Regions from separate parts of the Homo sapiens genome. Here regions 1 and 3 are each linked to region 2. Evidence: promoter capture Hi-C in 16 types of primary human blood cells and fetal thymus (Javierre and others, 2016). All regions are on one chromosome and are shown on one strand. Each heading gives the region's core, a stretch centred on a gene start or on the middle of the fragment in contact. The rest is flanking DNA. Distances are from core to core; before and after follow the strand shown.

What was found. The method cuts DNA at HindIII sites, captures the fragments that hold promoters and counts their contacts. A CHiCAGO score of 5 or more calls a contact.
Region 1: a contact is called between a fragment that was not itself captured here and the fragment with the promoter of BUD13 in region 2, in 9 of 17 cell types (naive B cells, non-activated CD4 T cells, neutrophils and 6 more). The highest score is 7.5, in naive B cells.
Region 3: a contact is called between a fragment that was not itself captured here and the fragment with the promoter of BUD13 in region 2, in 6 of 17 cell types (naive B cells, neutrophils, total B cells and 3 more). The highest score is 7.5, in naive B cells.

The regions. Positions count from the first base shown.
Region 1 is chr11:117,286,188-117,289,447 of GRCh38, forward strand. It overlaps RNF214 (ring finger protein 214), which reads left to right. Exons shown (of 15, transcript NM_207343.4): 15 at 1-267. It overlaps BACE1 (beta-secretase 1), which reads right to left. Exons shown (of 9, transcript NM_012104.6): 9 at 1-3,260. Among named protein-coding and RNA genes, the nearest start is that of BACE1, 28 kb to the right of the region's middle. RefSeq lists an enhancer at 2,957-3,260. The HindIII fragment of the contact is 3,297 bases long and covers 1-2,954 here.
Region 2 is chr11:116,770,925-116,774,262 of GRCh38, forward strand. BUD13 (BUD13 spliceosome associated protein) reads right to left here and starts at 2,063. Exons shown (of 10, transcript NM_032725.4): 1 at 1,898-2,063. The coding sequence starts at 2,040. ZPR1 (ZPR1 zinc finger) reads right to left here. Exons shown (of 14, transcript NM_003904.5): 14 at 2,875-3,338. It overlaps BUD13-DT (BUD13 divergent transcript), which reads left to right and starts at 2,547. Exons shown (of 2, transcript NR_186226.1): 1 at 2,547-2,587; 2 at 2,986-3,281. RefSeq lists a silencer at 2,202-2,401 and an enhancer at 2,522-2,611. The HindIII fragment of the contact is 6,866 bases long and covers 1-3,338 here.
Region 3 is chr11:117,338,413-117,341,696 of GRCh38, forward strand. CEP164 (centrosomal protein 164) reads left to right here. Exons shown (of 33, transcript NM_014956.5): 3 at 154-256. The coding sequence starts at 175. Among named protein-coding and RNA genes, the nearest start is that of CEP164, 12 kb to the left of the region's middle. The HindIII fragment of the contact is 3,559 bases long and covers 106-3,284 here.

The sequences.
Region 1 (3,260 bases), core at 56-2,555, 510 kb after region 2:
TTTCCTGTCCTGGGAAAAATGGAGACCAAAGTGATATTAAGAAAGTAGTTTGGATTTCAAATTTATAAATCACTTGCTCTGTGGGTAGCTATCAGGAACTAGATCATTTTCCACCTCTGCTTATTGTACTTCTTAATTTTAGGTTTTATACCTGGGAAAGCTGTGACTCTATTAGAGCTTTGAATCTTTTCCTATCCTTTTATCTTTACTCCTACAGGGAATGGCCTCAGCTCCCTTCTCTTTTAGAATTAAACAAGTAAAAACTAAGAGTTAACTTTTTAAAAAAACTGACTCCAGGGAAAGGACATTATTATATTACCAATAGCTGATTTTTTTTTCCATTCTGGGACCTAAAATGCTTACAGGTACTAGCAGTACATGTCGGATAGCAAAGACTTTTCCTTTCAGACCCAACTAAATGATCTCCTTTCTGCCTTTGATACTCTTTTCCTTCTTTGTCTTTCATCCTTGCCTATCACCTCACAGATGGATTCTTCCTCATTTCTCTTGCCTCACTTGCCCAGGTTTATTGACTAGCGTCAGTTTAAGGAGCTGGACTTCCTGGGACCTCCTTGGCATCTTGTAGGGTGATTGGAGTGGCCTGAGTACTCAGCTCTTCAGAGGTCAGGTGACCCACTTTCTTTGGTTAATGAAATGTTACTGTCTCCAGGTTAGTAGCTGTCATGAACAGGAAAGGTGGCAAAATGGAAGACCAGTTCTATTGTTCTTTTTGTTTAGGGGATTCGTTTTTTATCTTGTAATCTTAAGATTTCCTCTCCCCTCAACTTTACAGCAGCCTTAGGCCACCTGCCGTATTTTTCAGTATCCCCTGCAAATTTAGAAATTGAAAATGAGTGTAAAGCATATTGTTTCTTTTCCAAAATCCTTTGAAGCCAAAGGAGTAAAGAAAGAAAAAAGGAAGGGGTGAGGAGGGGGCTTAACTGCTTCCCAGTAAAGACCCTGGAAAGCCCACTCTTGCAGGAGGATAAGTGTTTTGGAGAGTTGTGCATGGGAGCGAGCGCCTCAGTGTTACTCTTTCTTGTTCAGGATCAGTCAGAAAGCAACACAAGTGTTGGCGACCCCTGTTCTCCCTTCTCCCTCTGTCCACTGGCCTGCAATGATAAAAGACATGCAGACCAATGGGAAAGGCCCCAAATGCAGTGAGTGGAGAATGGGACAGTCATTTTTCAGGAGCAGAATTTAAAAATACAGATGTATAATACATATTTTTACAAGCAAGAAGCTGTTGTTAAGACTTTTTTTTACACTTAGAGTTTATAATTTTGGGGCAGGAAGGAAGTAACTGTAAAAAGAAAAACAAGTGCAAGTTTTCTTTAAAAAAATAATAGGCTGATGGGACTTGCTATCGAAGGGGTTGAGTTTTATGCCCTGGAAAGGGCTGGGAAAAAGCCAGTTTTTCCCAACATGGGTAGAAATTATAAAGCAAAATGTGGCATTTTCACTTCATGGTAGCAGTTCTGAAAGTTTATTTACACAGTAAGTTCCGAGCTAGAAGTGGACAGTCTCCAGTCTTCCTGTCAGACTCTGTAGTTATGGGGTGTTCCCAGTCAGCCAAAGCAGCACCAAGTGCAGTGGGAATGAAGAGAACCCAGATAAAAAACTGACTCAGTATTCTTGTTTTATTGGTTTATGGCTTGTGGGCAGCTGGCTGAGGCCAGGAACACCAGAGGCCCTCCTTGTATTTCCCTCTCCCTTATCAGGTAATTCCACACTTAGCAGGTCCCATACCTGGAAGCAGCGGGTTGACCAGGTAGGAGTAGGATGCAGTGGGTATACTAGGAAAACCCAGCTCTTCCCACTAACACTGGTACCGTAGTTTACTATGCTAGAACTGATAGGGAGGTAATGAACTTGGTCCCCACTACCTAGCCCAAGAACCAGCCTGGGTACCCACGTACCATTAGGAGCGGGGAGGGGAAGAACAGGATAGGGGAAAAAGATGACCTTCATCAAGGAGCTCTTGTGGTGGAGGACATAAGGAAGCCCTGAGGCTGCCATCCTTTCTCCAGGCAGCCTTGATACTGAAGGCAGTAATGTTAGAGCCATAAAGCACTGTATTTCTCATACTCTTGGTATAATGCTAGTGCCACTGTGTGATGCTTTAGTCAAATAAATGGAGGGGCCATTAGAGAGGGTAGGAAGGCAATGAAACCACTCTGAATTATGTAAAGATCTTGCTACTTCTTATAGCCTAATAGGAAGAAATCCAGGCAGGGGTTATAGGGCATCAGCTGTTGAATGAATGTTCAACATTATGCTTTTAAGGATTAGATAGAAGAGGTCTCCTACCTATTCCTTTTAGCACCTTGGCTGCAAAGCTCCAGAGGAAGATTTGGGGGAAAGAGTGAGCCTATGACCAGGAAGACAGAGCCCAGCCCTGCTATAGTCCAGTTGCTCTCCCACAGGGCACCTGGAGCTTAGGGGGTTAGGATATTTCAGTGCTGCCTATCATATGTAGAATAAAGGGTGGTTCAGATAGAGACAATGAAATTAATATGGCAGAAATTCATGTGTTAAGTGGAACTTCTTAGTGGGCACTTCATTTAAGAGAGCTAAAAAAGAGCTCTTTGGCTAGATAAGCCCTTCCCATCTCACTTTTGGTCAGGCTGCAACCACAGAAAAGAAAACATTGAAAACAACACCCATCTTCTGAGATGGGATGCTATCTTGGAGATGAGGTCTAAAACTAGGACTGGTGAGTGGTTGTGTTTCTGCCTTTCCTAGCTTTGATCCCACTATTCCCTGTCTTTGTACTCCCTCTCCTTCTCCTCTTTCCAGCCGCCCCCATTTGTATAAATAGTCAATCTAGTTTTTTTTTTTAATTCAAGAGGCAATCTTTGCACCAATGTTAGGCTTGTTTATACAGTCCCTGTCTCTAAAGCAAATAGCAAACTGTGCATCCTCTCCTACTGACTTTGGCCAGCAGGGAAACAAGCTTGGTCTCTTCTCTGCCAGGGTACCACAGGGACACACGCCAAGGTAACCTGCGTGTGATGCCAGTACTTCTGAAACTAAGAAAAGAAGAATACTTTGGGTTGGAGAATTTAAAGGAATGGTGGACAAAGGTTCAGGGCTGAAGTTTCAAGCAGCAGAATTTCCCGACTTAAATTTGAGGTGACCAAGAGTATTCCCGCCAGCAGAGTGCTTCTTTCTTCTCTTTTCTGTTTCCTACAGGTACAGTCCCTGGAACCCACCTTGCCAGCCTTTTCCTTCTCCATCAAGGCAGAGGCATTTGGTGG
Region 2 (3,338 bases), core at 813-3,312:
CTGGGACTACAGGCATGTGCCACTGTGCCTGACTACTTTTTTGTATTTTTTGTAGAAACAGGGTTTCACCATGTTGCCCAGACTGGTCTCAAACTCCTAGATGCAAGCAATCCACCCGCCTTGGCCTCCCAAAGTGCTAGGAAACTCTTTCTCATTCCAGGAAACTCTTCCTCATTCTTCAGGTCCTAACACAAATTTAACTTCCTTTGGCAAACTTTTCTTGACTGCTTCACCCAATTCCCTCACCATCCCACACTCACTCAAGACTAAGAACCCTTGTTAAAAACTCTTGGAATACTTTCATTGCATTTATCATAAAGAAAATATATCGATTAGTTGTGTAATTAGTTGCTTAAAGCCTGTATTCCCATTAATCTATAAGCTCCACAAGAACAGGGACTATGTTTTTTTTGTTCACAGAGGCATCCTCAACACCCTACAGTAACTGGAATACGAAATATTCAATAAATGTTTGTTACGTGGATAAACTATATAGCTGAGCCCAAATAATAACAATGACTGCCATGATGTGAAGTTATTCAAAAAGCCAGGGTCACTTAATGCAATCCCTCTAATCACAACCACCACTTAATAAAACCATTATTATTATTATTCTCATTTTAAAGATAAGGAAACTGCAGCTCAGTGAGATGAAACACCTTGCCCAAGGGTACACAGCCTATAAAGTGGCACAGCTAGGATTCGAACTCTGACCAGTGCTGCTCCAACACTCAAGCTACTTTCATCACATGGCACTGCCTCCAAAGGATCCACACAAGTCAGCGAGGCAGAAAGACGAAGACAATAATAAGGCAAGCACCAAACCAGAAAAGAACTTGGACTAGTTCTTTAGAACAATGTGACTTCACTGGGTATCTCAGTGCCTTAGGGTTACTGTAACAAAGTACCACAAATTGCGTGGCATAAAACAACAGAAACTCTCTCGCAGTTCTGGAAGCTAGCAATCTGAAATCCAGGTGTCTGCAAGGCCATCCTCCCTGGAAAGTCTCTAGCAGAGAATCTTTCCTTGCCTCTCCCAGCTTCTGGTAGCCCCAAGCATACCTTGGCTTTTGGCAACATAAATCCAATCCAATCTCAGCCTTCATCTAGACATGGTCGTTTTTCCTTTGTTGCTGTGTCTGTATCCATACTTCCCTCTTTTTAAAAGGCAAACAGTCATCTTGGATTTGGCACCCACCTTAATCAAGTATGACCTCATCTTAACTGATTACATCTCCAAAGACCCTATTTCTAAATGTCACATTCTGTGGTTCTGGGTGGAAAACGATTTGGTAGGGCCCACTACACTGGGCCACAAAGTTGTCCCATATGAAAATAATACCCACTTCATGGTAGTGTGGTGAGGCTTAAATAAACTTATATATGTTTAAATTTCTTATAATGGTGCCTGGCAAGAAAAGTATAACTATATAAATGTTAGCTTCTCACGTTAGGACTATTACTAAGAGTAACAGGAGGTGATCAAAGGTCTCTGATTCAGAACCAAGTCCTTGGGATCTGGGAATCCCCACAGGCAGGTACCGGGCCCTAAAGATCCAAGCACAGAGGCTTTGAATCCGCTCCATTATTCTCGAGGCACAATATTCATTCTCTATGGGAGAGGACGGAAGTCTACCAAGGCGGGAAAAGAGTAATCAAAGTTACACCCCGGCTTTAACGCACTGACGCTACTGCTCAGAGGCTCGAGATGTAAGCGGGGCGGCAGAGGCAAGGCGGGGGGCCTCAAGCGATGTGAGTGGGGCCCTGAGCATGAGCAGGGGTCGGCGGAGAAGCCGAGAGACCCGCCAAGAGGGAAGGAACTGCCGGGCGGCCGAGGGCGGAGTTGGGAAGGGGTGGCTAGACGTCGCAGGCCCCGCCCCGGCCGGTACCAACTCACCCCTTGCCGCCGGCCCCGCCAGGCTTCGGCCGCTTTTTGCGACGCTTGCGACCGGACTCAGATCCCCGGTCGACGCCGGCATCTGCCCCGGACAAGTAACGCTTCAGATACTCGGCCTTGGAAAGCGGCGGAGCTGCCGCCATGGCAGCGGCGGGGGCAGAGAGACGGGTCGGCGCTGGGGACAAAATGCCTCAACGCGTAACGGACGCCAGCCACCCGACAGGGCGGGGCCACGGCCGGAAGTGGCGGAGAGTGCTAAGAATCGCGCGGCTGGCAGGTGCGGCCACCGGGACGCGCTCGCAGGCTAGCCAGGGACGTGCGCACCTTCGGGGCGCTCCACAGCCCTGGGACGACGCCACCAGGTTTCTTCTCTTCATTCACTCACCCACCCACCCACCCATCCATCCAACCGCAGCAAGCGCTGTTCTATGAGGCCACAACCTGACCCAAAGGACCCCGCCCCCATCGGCCGCCTAAACTCCAGAGCACGAGCAAGAAAGTGGAGGGCCACGGGCTGCAGCGTAGCCGAGTTTGAATACTGGTTCCATAGCTGGCTAGCTGTACGACCTCGGGCAAGTTATCACAAAACAGGGAGAATCCCGGCACCTAACTCGGAACGGTCACAGGCTGAGATGATATTACTGTGTGAAGTGCGCAGAGCGGTGTTGGGCACATGGTCATCGGAACTATGTTCGTTATTTTTATAAGTATCTTTAAGTGGGGGGAATCTGCTCCACTAGGCTTCCAGGTACCTACCGTCCAAGAAAGGAAGCCAGGAAGTGCAAACCAACATAATTACTATGAAAAACGTAGTTTCTAAGACCTGTGTAACTCTTCTAGTGTTCTATTACAAGTAGCCCCCAGTTATCTCTTGAAGGAAACTGTAAAACAATCTTGCCAATGAGAAGGACGGACCTGGATCATTTTTTAGCATAGTAAAAGAGAGAAACCAGAGAGAATGAATTCTAACACTCAAGTTTTGGGGGGAAAGAAAAGACTTTATTCTTTGCAGGGGGTTTAGAGCTTTACCTGAATTATCTCATTTAACCCTCACAATTCTCAAATCGTTTCATTATCATATTTTACAGATAAGAACTGAAGCGTGGCAAGATTAAGGAAGTTGCTCAACTTCACATAGTCAGAACATGACTCTAGGGAGTAGAGGCTAGCGAAGTGGGGTGCAAGAGGTCATCCAAATTTCTTGAAATACCAGATCTTTTTACCTCATCATATATGTTAGATTGTCAGTTTTATCGTTTTCTTCCCAGCTTTATTATTTGACAAAAAATTATATATATTCAAGGTGTACAATGTGATGACTGGATATAATTATACATTGTGTAATGATTACCAAAATCAAATTAAGTAAAACATCCTTCACTAATTTATGTAGTAGTTCGGTGGGGGGGCACTTAAGCAAATTTGTCTTAGCAAACTTCAA
Region 3 (3,284 bases), core at 635-3,134, 570 kb after region 2:
ACCCTCCACTATACCTGGCGCCTGGGAAGGCCCTGGCCAAATTGCTCTGCAGGGTCTGGTTTGACCCAGATGCTCCATGACCCAGTGCCAACTTTTCCCCTGTTAAGCTTGGTCACTGATTTTTCTCTTTTGGTGGGGGCCTCTGGGATCTAGGTGTTTGAGCCCAGATGAGTCATGGCTGGACGACCCCTCCGCATAGGAGATCAGCTGGTTCTGGAAGAAGATTATGATGAGACCTACATTCCTAGTGAGCAAGGTAACAAGTCTGTGAAGAGGCCTGTGGTGTATTGTGTTTGTTTTTTGAGGACAGGGATTGTCTGGTTTATTTTTATTCTTTCAGTGCAAAGTATGGTACATGTACAGAGTTGCTTAGTATATTCGGGTTAGATCAAATGTGAGCCTACCTTGGCCTCTTGCCTGTTTTTTTTTAAGTTTCTTTCTGTTGCCCAGGCTGGAGTGCAGTGGCGTGATCTCAGCTCACTGCAACCTCTGCCTCCCAGGTTCAAGTGATTCTCCCACCTCAGCCTCCCGAGAAGCTGGGATTACAGGCGTGCACCACCACACCTGGCTAATTTTTTGTACTTTTAGTAGAGACGGGTTTCACCATGTTGGACAAGCTGGTCTCGAACTCCCGACCTCAAGCGGTTTGCCTGCCTCCGGCTCCCAAAGTGCTGGGATTACAGGCGTGAGCCACCTTGCCTGGCTACTTGCCTATTTTTGTAAATACACCTTCATTGGAAAACAGCCACAATGGTTTATGTATTGTGTGTGGCTGCTTCTATGCTACAGCTGCAGAGATATGTGGCTGTTAAGAGAGGTATATGACCCACAAAGGGTAAGATAGTTACTCTCCGGTTGTTTACAGAAAAAGTTTGCTGTCTTTGGGTTAGAGCAGTGATTAGATTTAAATGGAAACATAGTAGGGGGTATCTAAATACAGTGTGTTCTGAGACCAGGGGAAACCCAATTTCCTAAGCACGAACTTAGAGCAGTGTTTTTTTAAACAACAATAACATTATTAGTAACAATAACAACATAACTTATTATGTGCCAGCGTCTGTTTTAAGCACTTTGCATGTATTACCTTATTACCTTTTCCTTTGTTTTTTGTTTTTTTTTTTTTTTTTTTTTTTTGAGACAGAGTCTCACTCTGTCACCCAGGCTGGAATGCAGTGGTATGATCTTGGCTCACTGCAACCTCTCTCTCCCGGGTTCAAGCGAATCTCATGCCTCAGCCTCCTGAGTAGCTAGAACTACAGGTGCCCACCACCACACCTGGGGAACTAATTTTTGTATTTTTAGTAGAGAAGGGGTTTTGCAGTGTTGGCCAGGCTGGTCTCAAACTGACCTCAAGTGATCTTCCCACCTCCACTTCCCAGAGTGCTGGGATTACAGGCGGGAGACACCATGCCTGGCCCATGTATTACCTTTTCAACCCTCACTGCAACTCCATGAGTTAGGTACTATTATTATCCCCATTTTACAGATGAGGAAATCAAGGCACAGAAAGATTAACTTCCTGTGGATATACAGTTCTATTCTAAGTGGTGTTGCTAGAATCCACCTCCAGGTATTCAAGCTCTAGGGCCTGTACTTTGTTCTTTGTTTTTTTTTGTTAGTTTGTTTTTTTTGAGATGGAGTTTCACTCTGTCGCCCAGGCTGGAGGGCAGTGGCGGGATCTCTGCTCACTGCAACCTCCGCCTCCCAGGTTCAAGTGAATCTCCTGCCTTAGCCTCCCTAGTAGCTGGGACTACAGATGCGTGCCACTGTGCTTGGGTAATTTTTTTGTATTTTTAACAGAGACGGGGTTTTGCCATGTTGGCGAGGCTGGTCTCAAACTGACAAGTGATCTCCCCGTCTTGGCCTCCCAGAGGATTGGGATTACAGGCATGAGCCACTTGTGCCTGGCCATAGGGCCTGCACTTTGAAGCACTATGCAATTATTTGGAGTGAAAGTTTCTTTGAAATTCTGACGAGTTATGATCTAGGCATACAAAGTTTGCTTATAATTCAGGTGGTTCATGGACTTGAGAGCAGGGTTCACAATTCTTGCATCTCTAGGAATACATGGATCTCATGTTAAATGCTGGACTTTGCTTATAGCATAGGGTGTTTTTTTTGTTTTCCATATTTTTGTTTTTAGAGACAGTCTTACTCTGTCACCCAGGCTAGTATGCAGTGGCTCCATCATAGCTCACTGCAGCCTTGAACTCGTGGGCTCAGGTGATCCTCCCATGTAGCTAGAACTACAGGTGCATGTCATGTGTCTGGCTAATTAAAATAAATTTTTTTGTAGGGATAGGCTCTCACTGTGTTGCCCAGGCTAGTCTTGAACTCCTGGGTTCAAGTGATCCTCCTGTCTGGGCTTCCCAAAGTGCAGGGATTACAGACATAAGCCACTACGACTGGCCTCTTTCTTTCTTTCCTACTTTCTCTTTAGAGACGGAGTCTCACTTTGTCGCCCAGGCTGGACTGCAATGGCGTGAGCTCGGCTCGCTGCAACCTCCAGGTTCAAGTGATTCTTCTGTCTCAGACTCCCAAGTAGCTGGGACTACAGGTGCACGCCACCACACCCAGCTAATTTTTGTATTTTTAGCAGAGACAGGGTTTCACCATATTGGTCAGGCTGGTCTTGAACTCTTGACTTCAGGTGATCTACCTGCCTCGGCCTCCCAAAGTGCTGGGATTACAGGTGTGAGTCACTGCACCTAGCCATGAATGGCCTGTTTCTTAAATTTGTATACATTTGGTTGCTGTTGTAAATGGAGTCAAAGGTTTTTCTAAGGATGTTTATAAAAACTTTCTTCGGCCCAGTCCAGGTGTAGGCATTCTAACCTCAAGCCACCATTTTCTCTTCCTGGGCTATCTCAGTAGCTTCCTAATTAGCCTTACTGTTTATAAAGCAGATCATGTCAGGGCTGTGCTTTTAGTCCCCCCGCATCCCCAGTATACTCAACATAACACCCTTGATGGGATTGCAGGGCTCTGTGACCTGGCTCTTTCTACCAGTCACATTGGCCTTTTTTTGTTGTTTGTTTGTTTTTTTTTTGAGACCGAGTTTCACTCTGTCACTCAGACTGGAGTGCAGTGGTGTGAACTTGGCTTATTGAAGCCTTGACCCCTTGGGCTCAAGTGATTCTCCCACCTCAGCCTCCCAAGTAGCTGGGACCACAAGTGCATACCATCAGGCCTGGCTAATTTTTGTATTGTGTTGGTAGAGATGGGGTCTTGCCGTGTTGCCCAGGCTGGTCTTGAACTCCTGGGCTCAAGCAATCCACCCACCT